Regions from separate parts of the Homo sapiens genome. Here region 1 is linked to region 2. The links are contacts of gene promoters, found by promoter capture Hi-C in blood cells and fetal thymus (Javierre and others, 2016). All regions are on one chromosome and are shown on one strand. The core of a region is centred on a gene start or on the middle of the fragment in contact, and the rest is flanking DNA. Distances in the headings are between cores, read along the strand shown.

Region 1 (6,954 bases), core at 835-3,334, 6.1 Mb before region 2:
GACCAGTTGGTGAAACTGATTCCAAACTCCAGAAAAAATGCTGATTTTTTTCCCCATGGTTCTCCTACCTAAATGATTGGTTTCCCTATGGCTATTTCTCCAAGAGTTAAGGGATAGCTGCTTAACTATGCACCTTTACAGAACATTCTTAGCAGTAATGCTCAAATTTAAAAGGCACACTCAAGATACTTCCATGTCATGGATCCTTCCCCAGGTCCCAGTAGTATAAATATAGGGAAGAGGTTAGCATGAACTTACAAATTGTTTTAAGTAATCCTCTTGAATGCCAGTCATTAAAGGACTTTGCCCTTCTACATCAAATTACATCCTTTTCACAAATCCCCATTTCTGTAATAACTGGTGCAAACCTAAAGGTGCTTTATAGTTTTACTACTTTGCAGATTTGCAATGCTGCATATAATGCAGAAGAGCATTAAAAACTTTTGTAAAAACTCATGATTTTGATAAACTTTTAAAGTAGCGTTTATATGTAAATAGAACTACACATGGCACACACACTTGCACAAGGGCTTCAGAAAAACGTGCAATATAGGTGAGAAAAATGTCTATTGAAACTTTCTCACAGGCTGCCCTTATAATTAAACTAGTGTTGGGGCAAGCAACATCTGTTTCAAGTAGATCAGGGACTAGCAAACCTAAAAGGCAGCAAGCAGCCTGCAGTTTGCTCAATCCTTAAGAATACATGGTTCATACAACATGCTTTTACTATGTCTTAAGTGTGACTTTTGAAAGATACAAGTGTTCTGTGCATATTTGTGTAAATAAATACATAATTTTCCACCTTGTATAACTGCCTTAAATTTTTGTATGGTTTAAAAAGAGTCTGCTGTCTCCCTTGGGGGTAGCCTGGTAATTTTTATATTTTACATTTTTCACAAAGGCTGCAATTACCTTAGAACTGTACTCACACTACTTCCACATGAGCGTGTAACACTAAATAGGAGGTATTATGCTATTAACTACCTTTCCGTCTATTAATCACTCAGTCAAGGAACAATGAGTAGCCACATGAATTAAGCATTTTATTTAATTATCACGGACCACCTTAAATATTACTTTACAAAATTCAGGCCTATATTTAAAATAGGTGTCCTGATAACTTCCAGGATATTATTCGGAACACCCGTTTCCCCAACTACGATAAGTCCATTGCCGGATGCTGAATAAACTTCGCCCATTACCACTTGGATTTCTTGATAGTCTGCAAGAGAAAAAAAGCATTATAAAACTCCGAGCTGTGTACTTACCTCACTGTTTTGAGATCTTATCAGCTAATTCAGTTGGTTGTTAACTCAAACTACAAAAGCCAGCAAAACGGGCCAACTTTAGCTTTCCAACGTCCTGCCGCTAAGGCGTTTCAGATTAACTCAGAAATATCAAAAAAGAAATGTACCTTATGTTTCCATCATCCATCGTAATGTGTTCAGCTCAGCTTCCTAGAAACATTGAACAACGGTTTAGAAATTTTGCCCAATAACCCGGCACCCTCTAGGTTTTTAACAGTGAATGTTACTTGTGCAAGTCAGAATCTGATACCAATTAAATGGTGACAGCTTTGCCAATAAACAAGGATATGCTCTTCCATGGCTAGGAAGGGAGACTGCCACGGCTGACAGGTCCCAAAGATACATGGAGATTCACAATCCAGAATTAACCAGCAACCAAACTGCTACAGGTTATTACTCACCATCTGGCTCAAACTGACGGTTCTCGGGGTGCTAGGGCACAAGAGCGACAGAGTAGACTCAAGATGGCCACATGACACAGACGGCTGAACAGGCTTCACCGGAGTCCCCGAGTGCACGGAACCTTTCCCCGAGGGCCCACGGCCCACGCACGCCGGGGTTCAGGGTCCAGGGCTGCACGTGGACGCCCGGCGACCTAATGAGCACTCAAGTCCGCGCATGCTTGTAAACTTAAGGGTTTCCAAAGCCGCCCCCGACCTACCAATATCCTGACTGCGCTGCCTTTTAGGTAAGGCAGTAAGTTTCGGCCCAATTATCATTTTAACTTACGAAAGACAACTACGTACTTTCACCTAATCCCGACGCTTCCCGAATGTGAAAGGCCGAGGCCTTCGGCACACGCTCTCTTATAGAACTGATGACGCTATTCCGGGGGAAGCGCCGCGAGGGGCGGAGCCTATGCTGTTTCACTCCCCGCCCCGCCTAGCCCCGCCGCGGCTCCACCTGTTCCGTCTACCACCCCCTTCGCGGCTCCTTTCCCCCCTCCCCCGCACATGGTCCACGTCTGAGCGGGTCACCTGGCTCCGGATCCAGACGCATGCGCACATACGAGAGCCAAAAGGTTCTCGCATAGCGAAAGATCCTGACGCTTACCGGTGTAGGTCACGAAAGCGAGGGGGATTTTTTTGGTATTTCCTGTTTAGGATACTTATTTTAGACAATATTAGAAAAAGGGGCCGAACGCGGTGGCTCACGTCTGTGATCCCAGCACTTTGGGAGGCCGAGGCGGGCGGATCACTTGAGGTTAGGAGTTGGAGACCAGCCTGGCTAACATGGCGAAACCCCGTTTCTACTAAAAATACAAAAATTAGCCTGGTGTGGTGGTGAACGCCTGTAGTCCCGGCTACTCGGGAGGTTGAGGTGGGAGAATCTCTTGAGCCCGAGAGGCGGAAGTTATGGTGAGCTGAGATCGCTGGTTAGCATTTTACAAATTACCTAATCACTACTCAAAAACAAGAAAAGTCTGAGAAACTATTATGCCAGAGAAAATGATGCATAATGATTAAATGTAATGTGGTATCCTGGCTGGGATCTCCAGCAGAAAAAGGACATTAATGGAAAACTAGCGAATCTGAACAAAGTGTGGAATTTAGGTAATAGTGCCAATACCGATTTCTTTATTGTGACAGATATACCATGGTATTGTAAGATATTAATGGTAGGGGAAATTGGATGAAGGGGGTGTGGGGACTCCATTTTTGCAAATTTTCTGTAAATGTAAAACAAAGTTTAACTTAAAAAAGCAATTATAACCTTACAGTCTATTATACTTTCATTTTAAGACAAAGTAGTGATTTAGTAGTGGTTTCTATCTACTTTAGTGTGAAATTTGTGGCTGAGATGACAGTATTTCTAAGTTTGACTTGAGATCAAACCCAATGAATTTAGCTGCATTCAAACCAAGGCTTTGAGCCTTTGGATATTCAGGAGAGACAATGTGGTAACAAATAAAAGAATTAAAAATTGGTTGGTAAATGAAGATTGGCTTAAGGATTTTATTTTATGTATTTATTTATTTAGAAACATTCTTGCTCTGTTGCCTAGCCTGGAGTGCAGTGGCATGATCTTGGCTCAGTGCAACCTCCACCTCCTAGGCTCAAGCGAGCCTCCTGCTAGGCGTGTGCCACCACTTGGCTACTTTTTTTTTAAGGTTTTTTTTTTTTGAAAGACAAGCCCTCACTATATTGCCCTCAGGCTGATCTCCTGTGCTCCTGGGCTCAAGTAATCCTCTTTCCTCGGCCTCCCAAAGTGCTAGGATTGCAGGTGCAAGCCACTGCGCCCAGCCTAAGGATTTTAAAGATAGAATGCAAGGTGAACCTGTTAGAACTGATCAAATGATGGCTAGGTAACATTTCAGTTCTGCTTTTGATACATGGAGTGAACAGTTCATTATAGAATATTTATTCTTCAACAATGCTTTTCCCTGCACTATATCTTTTTTCCTTTTGTGGTTTAGTGTTGAAACTGGTAGTCATCAGAAAAATTTAACATAGAATGGCACATCTGTCATATGAATGCTGAGATGAATAGGAGAAAATATAGTGAGGAAATAACCTGTGGACTTATTTCTATCTTAAAACACTTAGCAAATCTAAACTTCCAGTGTATACTAGCAGCGTGATACTTCTGCTGTAAAAATTGGTTTTGCTGCAGTAATAAAAGTATAGTGTATTGCAGTATGATCTAGTGTTAAAAAAAAAGCATAGTGTCCAAAAGAGAGGAGATGGACGTTCCCTCCTATCTATATTAAAATATTCTTGTCAGTTCTGAACATCTTGTTCAGTTGTTAAACATTTACTAGACTCCAGCAAATGTTTATTGAGCAGACATGGCCTTTGCCTCAAGACTTGAGAATATAATTGAGTAACTTACAGTTAGTGCCATTACAATGTTTTCCAAATCATTCAAAGTTCAAAGCAAAGAAATTAGTTCTTATTTTTCCCTATCCTTTATTTTCAGTATTTGATATATTTTTGTATCAACCAATGTATTAGTTATCGATTGCTGTATATCAAATTAGCCTAAAGCCTAGTAGCTTAAAAAAAAATAAGCACTTACTATCTCAAATAGTTTTTGTTGGTCAGGAATCTAAGAGCAGCTTAACTGGCTCAGTGTATCTTGTGAGGTTGCAGTCAGGATGTTGACTGGCATTGCAGCCATCTGAAGGCTTGACTGGGGCTGGTGCGGCAGGATTCTCTTTCAAGGTGGCTCATTCACAGACCTGACAAGTTAATGCTCATTGTTGGCAGGAAGCCTCAATTCCTCAGCATGTGAATCTCTCCATAGGGCTGCTTGACTGTCCTCATGATTCTCGTGGCAGCTGGCTTTCCTCAGAGTGAGTGACTCAAGAGAGGAAGCTCCAACACTTTTTATTGTGGCCTACACACCATCACTTGTTAGAAGTTAGTTATTAATGCCAGCTCACATTCAAGGGGAGGGAAATTAGCCCGTCTTGAGGGGAGTATAAAATTTTGTTGACAAATTCTAAAAGTGTCACAGTCAGGATGGATGAAGTTGTGTTGCAGTTACAGAAGATCCAAAATCTCTGTGGCTTAAAACAACAGAGATTTGTTTCTTGTCATGCTTATGTTCATGTTAGAGACCAGGCTAATGAGGCCTTCACCATTTGTAATGGTTCTAGGCAACATAAAGGGAGAAGGGAAAATAGTCATTATGTTCTTAAAGGATTCCATTCTGATGTGACATATGTTACTTTGACTCATATTTATGGACTAAAGCAAGTTCCATGGCCACACCTAACTCCAAAAGCCTGGGGAAATGGAATCCTACTGTGTGCTTAGAAGGAAGATAATCGGAAGTATTTCAATATATTATTATAGCACTAATGATTTCTACAGTGGCCAAGTTACAACTGTTTACATTATTTTTATAGTTACCTTTTCTCTATTGTTACATTGTGTATTAGTCTGATCTCACATTGCTATAATGAACTACCTGAGACTGGGTAATCTGTAAAGAAAAGTTTAATTGTCTCATGGTTCCACAGTCTGTACAGGAAGCATGGCTGGGGAGGCCTCAGGAAACATTCAGTCATGGCGGAAGGGGAAGCAGGCACATCCTACATGGGCAGAGAAGGAGGAAGAGAGAGCAGAGGGAGGTGCAACACACTTTTAAATAACCAGATCTCGTGAAAACTCACTATCACAAGAACACCAAGGGCAAATCAATGATCCAATCACCTCCCACCAGGCCTCTCCTCCAACACTGGGGATTACAGTTCGACACTGGGCAGGGACACGAATCCAAATCCAAACCATATCACACTGCTAATCTAAGATAATATGTCTGAGCTGTCTCCCTACATTTCTAATTCTCTCTTCCAATCAACTAAGTATATTAATGAAAGATTAAATTTCTGGAAATATTTTCTACATGTTAAGCACTTGTTATAGAAAGTGTAATGACTTTCCTACTGATTATCAGGTAAAATTCCTCATCCCAGGCCAACATACAATGTATGTTACACTTAGCATGCTCATTCCTATTTTTGTTCATGCTATTTCATAGAATAGAATATTCTACCCATTCTTCCTACCCATCCTTTAAGATGCATCTCAGTTCTTATTATTTTTTATAGTAATCTTTCTTTTAGAACATTAGAAAATATTGGTCTCATCTCATTTTTGCCATCCTTAATACTTATTCTTTGTACTGTACATTAAAAAAAATTCTCATGACTAAATAGTGAGTTTCTACTATATCCCAGGTCCTGTCATAGATGCTGTGGCTAGAAAGAGTAAACAAAATAGAATTTAAAAAAATTTCATGGAGCTTACATTTTAGTGGCAGAAAACAGATGCAAATAAGAGTATTAGAGTTCTATCAGAATCAGAACTACTAGGAAATACATATGATTAAAATCATATATGTAGAATCTGACCTTACACAATTGTGCAGTGGAGGGACCAAGGAAAATTGGCATCTACAAGAATGAGCTGTAATCCATGAGAATGAACTAGAATCAGGACCAATCTCTTCCTGGTTTCAAGGGTTTAGCTTTGATGATGGAGGTGATCTGCAAGAGAAGCTGATGCCCTTTGTCACAGACTTAGGGATTGTTGAAGTTGAAACAGAAGATCTGGGATGACTGAAGAAGCTATAGATCTGGCTACTGCCCCACACTTACAAGACAATTAGTAGATAAGTGATAACTTGCATGATCTGCAACATTGCCTGATGCCCCACACTGACCTTCCAAGTGTAAAAAGTGTATGCTGCTTTACTTTGATTTGCCAGGTCTCATACAAAATGTCTCCTGTGGTCTTTCTGAACGTGGAATTATTCAGGGAAGGGAAGGGAAATGTAGGACTAGCTTAGCTAAACTAAAGTAGAAGCCAATCACAATATGTAAATTATATGGTATGTTAACGTCAATGAGTGCTGTGGAGAAAAACAGCACAGAAGATGAGAAGTGTTTGGAAGGTAGGAATTACAATTTTAAAAAGGTGTTCAGGGGAAATGTCATTCAGAAAGTGACACAAGGTCAACAATTTGAAGAACATGAGGGAGCAAAACATGCAGACATTTGGAAGAGGAATATTCGAAGCAACCAATGCTTTCTCATTGGGGCCATACTTGATACAGTAGGCAAAGTTCCCAGTGACCTCACCTCATGTTATTCCTTCCTTTATGTAATCTCTTGAATGGCAAAGTGGTGAAATGTGAG
Region 2 (6,759 bases), core at 2,794-5,293:
TTTCAGACAGCACGATTTATAAAAGAAAGCTTGAAGCAACTTCAATGTGCGGTGTTAGGGGAATGAATTATTTGGCAGCCCTAAAGAGAGTTTTCACATAGAATTTCCATAACATGGGAAAATGACACAACCTTTTGTAAAAGAAGACACAAAATTATATTTATATTAAAACATATTAAAAATACATGTGTGGCTGGGCACAGAGGCTCAGACCTGTAATCCCAGTACTTCGGGAGGCTGAGACGGGAGGATTGCTTGAGGCTAGTAGTTTGAGATTAGCCTGGGCAACATAGCAAAACCCTATCTCAAAAAAAAAGTGTGTATATATGCATATACACATAGACAAATGAATATACTGTAGTAATACCAAGTTTCATATTTGATATCAAAATATTTGATATCAAAATCCCAAAATAGAGTGGGATTTCAAAGGCTTTTTTCTTCTTTAGATCTTTCTATAGTTCTAATTTTCCAAAGCACACATTACTTTTATAATCATAAAGACGTTAAAGCTAGAGTTAATAATTCGAAAGTCAATCTAAGGATAATGGGACTTCCCTATTCTCTAGGTAAGAGGGTCATGTTAGGTTATTTCAGATTGTGAGTGACCTGTACATTGTGCCACATCTAAGCAGATGCTATTGACATTTAAGGCATATAATAATGGACTAGAGATGTTTAGCCTTTCAGCTATGCATCAGGGCACAGAAACTCTTACATAAAGCCACCTGGCATTCACCCTCATGAACATACTTGGATCATCTCTCATACACACAATTACCAACACATATATGGAATAGCTGTGTCCTGTCCCTTCAGTTTCTTGGACATTCCCTGAAATTGCTTCTTTCCCTTGCTTATCTCTCTTTAGACACCTGATCCTATTTCAAACCTGGCACAGTTTCTTCATCTACAGGACTTGATTCATTCTCCCAAGGCCTCCTTTCTTAAGTGACTTGATTTTAACCAGGCATCCTTTGTCAATCGCCCTACCTGGAAAGACTCAGGCCAGAATGACAGAAGAACCTTCATTTTTTGCTCAAATGGAGTAGCATCTAAAGACAAATTGTTAAAAATGATGCAGACAATATCTTAACTAGTAATAAAACACCTATGTTAATACTAGGTGTTTTATATATTTCATATATATATGAAATAAGTAACAAAATAAAGATACATTTTGTTCTGGTATTGTAATAACAAGCTGATGAAAGAGCTTTCCAGGTTGAGGAAAAGGAATGAACCTTTCAGACAGAAGTGGAAAGAAAAATCAGTGAAGGAAGGGATGTATGTGGACGAGGATTTAGCTTGAGAAATAGCCCAAGAAAGAAACCTCCATCAAATTATTAGGAAAGGGCAAACTCTGTGAGGGGAATAGAAATAGAAAGGGACTTAATACAGAAAATTAGGTGTTGACAAAATCATTGAAAGAGCTAGAGGAGCACAAGTCAGGTGCCTCTGGAGCTATGGTGTTCAAGAGCATACAACCATAGCTCTTTTCTGGGTTAAAAGGAGCGCCTCTGCTAGCTCCTGCCTCTAATTTCCTCTCAATACCCATGAGGCTATCCATGACTCCGGAACACGAAGTGAGCGTGCCAAGTAGAAAAGACGGCAGGAAGATGGCCTCTGTCTCATTTCCAGCTAATTAGTTTTGGTTCTGTTCCTGTTTATATCATTGTTTTCATGGAAAAGTTCACCTTAAGTTCTAAATCATTAACTTAGAAACCAATCTTTCAAAAATATTCCATTTGTAATCTGGAGTCCTTGTATCCTTAAACCAACCAACAGGACAAACAAAAATCATCTCCCTAAATAAAAACTAAATAAAATGAGTCCTTGGGATATGTTCCATAGTTGTTAATTTCATTTCTTCCTCAAATATCTTTACACATGTAATACTATTTCTACCATCATTACATGGCAATGCATAATTTCATTTACAGAACTTGAAAAAAACTAGAAAACAAGGCTTTGTGATAACATTACCAAGAAACGTTTTATCAGAAAAGCTTGCTTTTTACAACAATGGGTTGGGTTGCACCAATTTTTTGCTTATTTTTGTCTTCTTGACTAATTCTTCTTTGGTGCTAATGTAGTAGGAAATGCCTATCTCCGGTGTGATTTTCAATTATTGTGTATGGGGGCTTAGAATACATTAATAAATCTTGAGGCAAAAACAGAATGATAAAAATAACACTTCAAAGGAGTACAGGAGAATGAACTTTCATGACATTCAATGAAGGAGGCAGGTATGCAAAGTGATATGTTTTCTAAGATGTACTTTTCATTTTTTGTTTTATCCTTTTACTTTGTACCATAAGCAATTTTGGAAAGACCACAACTATTAGTGATGTCTACATAATCATACTAATGAAGTACACAGAAGCTTAAATGAAGTATTTTTATATGCTCCCTTACAACTATTTGAAAATTTACTTTGGAAACCCCTGCTCAAATGCAACCCCTCCCCACCCCCAAAGGAATTCTTGTGCTGTCTTCTTCACTTTTCCAGTTAAGCAATTTAAGTTAGAGGAAATCAAGCCCTTGAGCAAATGAATAGTTAACGGGAAAAACCACTAGGAAGGGAATCCGAAGAACAAGCTACCAAATTATTTGCTTGAGTCACTTTCTCTTATATTGTCACAGATGAAAAATTACACTCCACGTGGTGATCAAACCTAACGCTAAGGCATATTTTGTGTGCCACACAGTATTACTCTGTTTCCTAAGTAACCTATTGAAACAATGTAAGGTATACATCTATTAATGCATTTAGTGATGATACTGGAATTTGTGAAACGTGACAGAAAGGACAGATGAAGAAAGATGAGGAGAGACAGGTATTAATTGTCCTAACAGTACAGGCTGTAATAAAGGCCAATAATCATTTGAATTCCTGCTCCTTAATGTGAGTCTAAAGAGCGGCTTACCTCAGGTATTTGGAAAGTCTAAATACTGTATTTGCTGTAGAAAATTCATCCAACATACAATTCAATTTTTAAAATTAAACCTTTTGCCTAATCTTTAAGATATTTGATGTTATAATGCCCATTATCACACTTTATTTAAATGAGATAAACTCAGAGAGTTTAAAAAATTACGCAACTTCTCTTTTCCCTTACTATGGCTGGCCTCTTATAACCGAAAGCAATATTCTTGCCTCTCCACTTTTTAACTGAAGCTTTGATCTCATCTGTATTTATGAAGAACGTGCTCTGGGAGAGTCCCTGTCAAGACATTCATTGTAACACCCGCTCCTACTCATGCTTTCAGCGCTGCCCGTGGACGGAATCCACCCACACCTTCCAGACACGCTAGGTGTGGGCTCGGAAACGCAAGATGGAGGGCGGGAGGGGAGCCGGCGTCTCCTAAACCTGGCGCAGGGCACGGACTCGAAGTTGAAAAAGAAGTGTTTACAAGTGAGGCTTTTAAATAAATCACCGCTATGGAGGGCATTTCCTCCGAGCCCTGGGCGCCAGCCTGAGAATCCTCTGCCGGACGCCAGGGGACGAACCACGCTGACCCCGCCAGACACGCGACCCCGGGGCCGGCGCTGGCGTCTGCACTCGCGCGACCCCGCCGCTCCTCCTGGGAGCGCCGTCTAACCGCTCCCGGCGACGACTTCCCAGAGCGCCGGGGAGCCAGTGCCCACGCGGGGCAGAGCTGCGGCGCGGCCCGCGGGCCGGGCCCCTTCCCTCCAACGCCGGGCGGGGCTCGCGGCCCCCGACCCGGCCGCTTCGCCGCCGCCCCTCCCCGCGCTCACCTGCTCGCTCTCCTTCGGCCGCTGTCCGCGCCGCCGCGGGCTCGCCCCGGGATCCCACCCGGTCCCTGCCGCCTCCCGCTCCGCCAGCGCGTCCCCGTCCTCGTCGCGTTCCCCGCCGTCGCCGCCCCGCAGCAGCTCCCCGGCTGAGCACATCCCGCAGCCAACTCCTACCGCCCCGGACAGCCGCCGGAGGACCACGCCGCGACGCACCAGGCAGCGCCGCCGCCCGAAGGCTGCCCTGGGATCCGCCGCACCCGCCGCTGACAGGAGCCGCCGGAGCGCGCCCCGCCGGCCTGGGCGCCTGAAGTACCAGCCCGGCCCCTCCTGTCACTGGCTCGCCCAACCCCCGGCCGTCGGGGCGGAGCCGTACAGGGGAGGGGCCAAGACAGGGGGCGGGGCCAACGGTGTGTTGGGGGGCGGGGGTGTGTGTGTGAGATTGAGAGAGAGGCCGACAGACTGAGAGAAGAAGGGTGTTGTGTGAAAAACTATGGACATACACTGCATGAGGGAGATTGTACATGAGAGAGGCTGTGTGTATGTATGAGGGATATTGTGTGTGCGTAAGAGACCGTTAGAGAGTGTGAGAGAGACGCTGAGCGTGATTTGTGTGTGTGTGTGAGAGAGATTCTATATAAAAGAAACTGCGTATAAGAGATTGTATGCACTTTGGGAGGCCGAGGCGGGCAGATAGCTTGAGCCCAGGAGTTGGAGACCAGCCTGGGCAACCCCATCTCTACTAAAAATAGAATTAGGCGGGCGTGGTGGCGGCAGTGTGGTCCCAGCTACTCAGGAGGCTGAGGTGGGAGGATCGTCTCAGCGCGGGAAGTCGAGGCTGCAGTGAGCAGAGATCACACCACTGCACTCCAGCGTGGGCGACAGAACCAGACCCCGTTTCAGAGAGAGAGAGAGAGAGAGAGAGGAGGGGGGGGGGAAAGAGAGAGAGAGAGAGAGAGAGAGAGAGATTGAGATTGTATGTGTATGCAAGAGACTGTGAGAGAGAGATTGTATGAGGGAACAACAGAAACTGAGAGAGATCAAGTGTGAAAGAGAAATTACTTGTGTGAGAGAGCCAGTGCATATATTTAAGAGAGAGCGCATTTGTATAAGAGATTAGTGTGTGTGGGTTTGTATGTGAGAGAGAAACACACACATGCACCCAGTTACACTCTCCAGCAGAGTACCCCTGTTCTTGCCTGAGTATCTGCCCGTCCTTTTCAAGGAAGACACATTTCACTGTCCCTCTTGTTCCTTTAGCCTCCTTTCCTAGTGTCTCACTGAAGGTCTGTGTATTTGTCCCTTTCTGTTGAGTGCTTCCTAGTGTGTGTTGTTTGTTGGAGCCTTGGGTCGTTTGATGGTGTATCAAATGATGTATCTTTCTGTAACTGGGTAAGAATATGTCTTTCTCAGTGGGTGGTGAGGGGAATATATCCAATTGATAATTATTTTTTGTACTACTCCATCCATTTTATTCAAGGAAAATGGAAGGGTGTTTAAATAAAATATCACTTTTTTTTCTGTGTATGCCTTATCTGTACATTGGGAAAACGATGGGTTATTGTACAGGTAAAATACAGAAAAGTAAATATGGAAAGTAAACATGTGTACACATGGAGAAGAGTAAGAGTTATTTGGGATCTTCTATTAAAATGTTTTCAGGCCCAGAGAAGGAATTAAAATAGGCAGAATCTCATAGGCTTATTTTAAAGAAGTTTCCTGTTTTTTGTAGTCAGGAGATTCTCAGTCTTTCTCACACACCCACAATCTCTCATACACACAATCTCTCTCATACACACATGATTTCACATACATACAGTCTCTCTCACACATATACAACCTCGCGCACACACCATCTCTCACACATGGTTTCTCACACATGCCCTCTCTGATTGTCTCTCCTCCACAAACAATCTCTCTAGGGGCCAGAAAATATGCCGTTGGATATCAAAAATTAGAAAGAAAATGAATCTGGTTCATTCCCTTTCTTAAAAGTCTTTAAAACTCCAGAAAAGAGTATTTAATATTATATACATACAATCAGAAACAAATATCACCATGGGAACCCAGTAGCCTTTCTGATGGGCCTCATTTTTTTTCCCCTGAAGGCAACATTTTCATTCTTGGAATTTTGGTTTGGCTATTAGTAGTGTTTCTTATAAAAACCAACTTTTTTTTTTTTTGGCTGGGCGTGGTGGCTCACGCCTGTAATCCCAGCACTTTGGGAGGCCGAGGCAGGCGAATCACAAGGTCAAGAGATGGAGACCATCCTGGCCAACATGGTGAAACCCCATCTCTACTACAAATACAAAAACTAGCTGGGTGTGGTGGCACATGCCTGTAGTCCCAGCTACTAGGGAGGCTGAGGCAGGAGAATCAGTTGAACCCGGGAGGCAGAGGTTGCAGTGAGCCAAGATCACGCCACTACACTCCAGCCTGGTGACAGAGCAAGACTCCGTCTCAAAAAAATAAAAAAATAAAAATCAACTTTTTTGGATAAAACTTTGGAATTATATACAGCAACCCAGAGAACATCAGCTCTTTACTGCCAACCCCATGAACTAAGGCACATTTTGAAGTTCTCCCTCATAGCGTTTGATTGGCAACTTGATAAGCCAAACAACTATGCACTCTTCAATCAGGCTACAGTGAGCAGAAATTCCTTATATATAAGAGGACTCAGAAGGCACAGAGTATTTATATAGCTGGGCAGGTACAATACAGAGGTTAGCTTTGTTCAGCTTAGGGGACAAGTCTTACAAAATTCCTTTAGAGTATACTGTCTGGTCTTTTGTAGATTCCGGCTTCTTGAGTCTTTGAGAAGTGTATTAATTCAGTTTTTTAGTAGGTATTTATTGAACGCTACTAGGCTTTAGGCCCAGGTCTAGGTCCCTATTCTCTTATTGAACACTACTAGGCGTTTGGCCCAGGTCTAGGTCCCTATTCTCATGAAGCTTCATTTTAATCCAATTCTTGTGTTATTTTCTTGGCAGAAACCAAGA

Evidence for each region. Contacts are between HindIII fragments. The CHiCAGO score rates a contact against its expected background, and 5 or more counts as called.
Region 1: the fragment with the promoter of SNHG8 here is called in contact with the fragment with the promoter of FAM241A in region 2 in 1 of 17 cell types (naive CD8 T cells); the score reaches 5.1 in naive CD8 T cells.

The regions. Positions count from the first base shown.
Region 1 is chr4:118,273,892-118,280,845 of GRCh38, reverse strand. It overlaps SNHG8 (small nucleolar RNA host gene 8), which reads right to left and starts at 2,084. Exons shown (of 3, transcript NR_034011.1): 1 at 2,054-2,084; 2 at 1,415-1,457; 3 at 1,023-1,222. SNORA24 (small nucleolar RNA, H/ACA box 24) reads right to left here and starts at 1,656; the gene lies at 1,526-1,656. It overlaps PRSS12 (serine protease 12), which reads left to right. Exons shown (of 13, transcript NM_003619.4): 13 at 1-808. RefSeq lists a silencer at 2,257-2,306 and an enhancer at 2,377-2,556. The HindIII fragment of the contact is 13,799 bases long and covers 1-6,954 here.
Region 2 is chr4:112,142,738-112,149,496 of GRCh38, reverse strand. FAM241A (family with sequence similarity 241 member A) reads right to left here and starts at 4,043. Exons shown (of 2, transcript NM_152400.3): 1 at 3,764-4,043. The coding sequence starts at 3,916. RefSeq lists an enhancer at 3,133-3,272 and a silencer at 3,613-4,262. The HindIII fragment of the contact is 3,530 bases long and covers 3,184-6,713 here.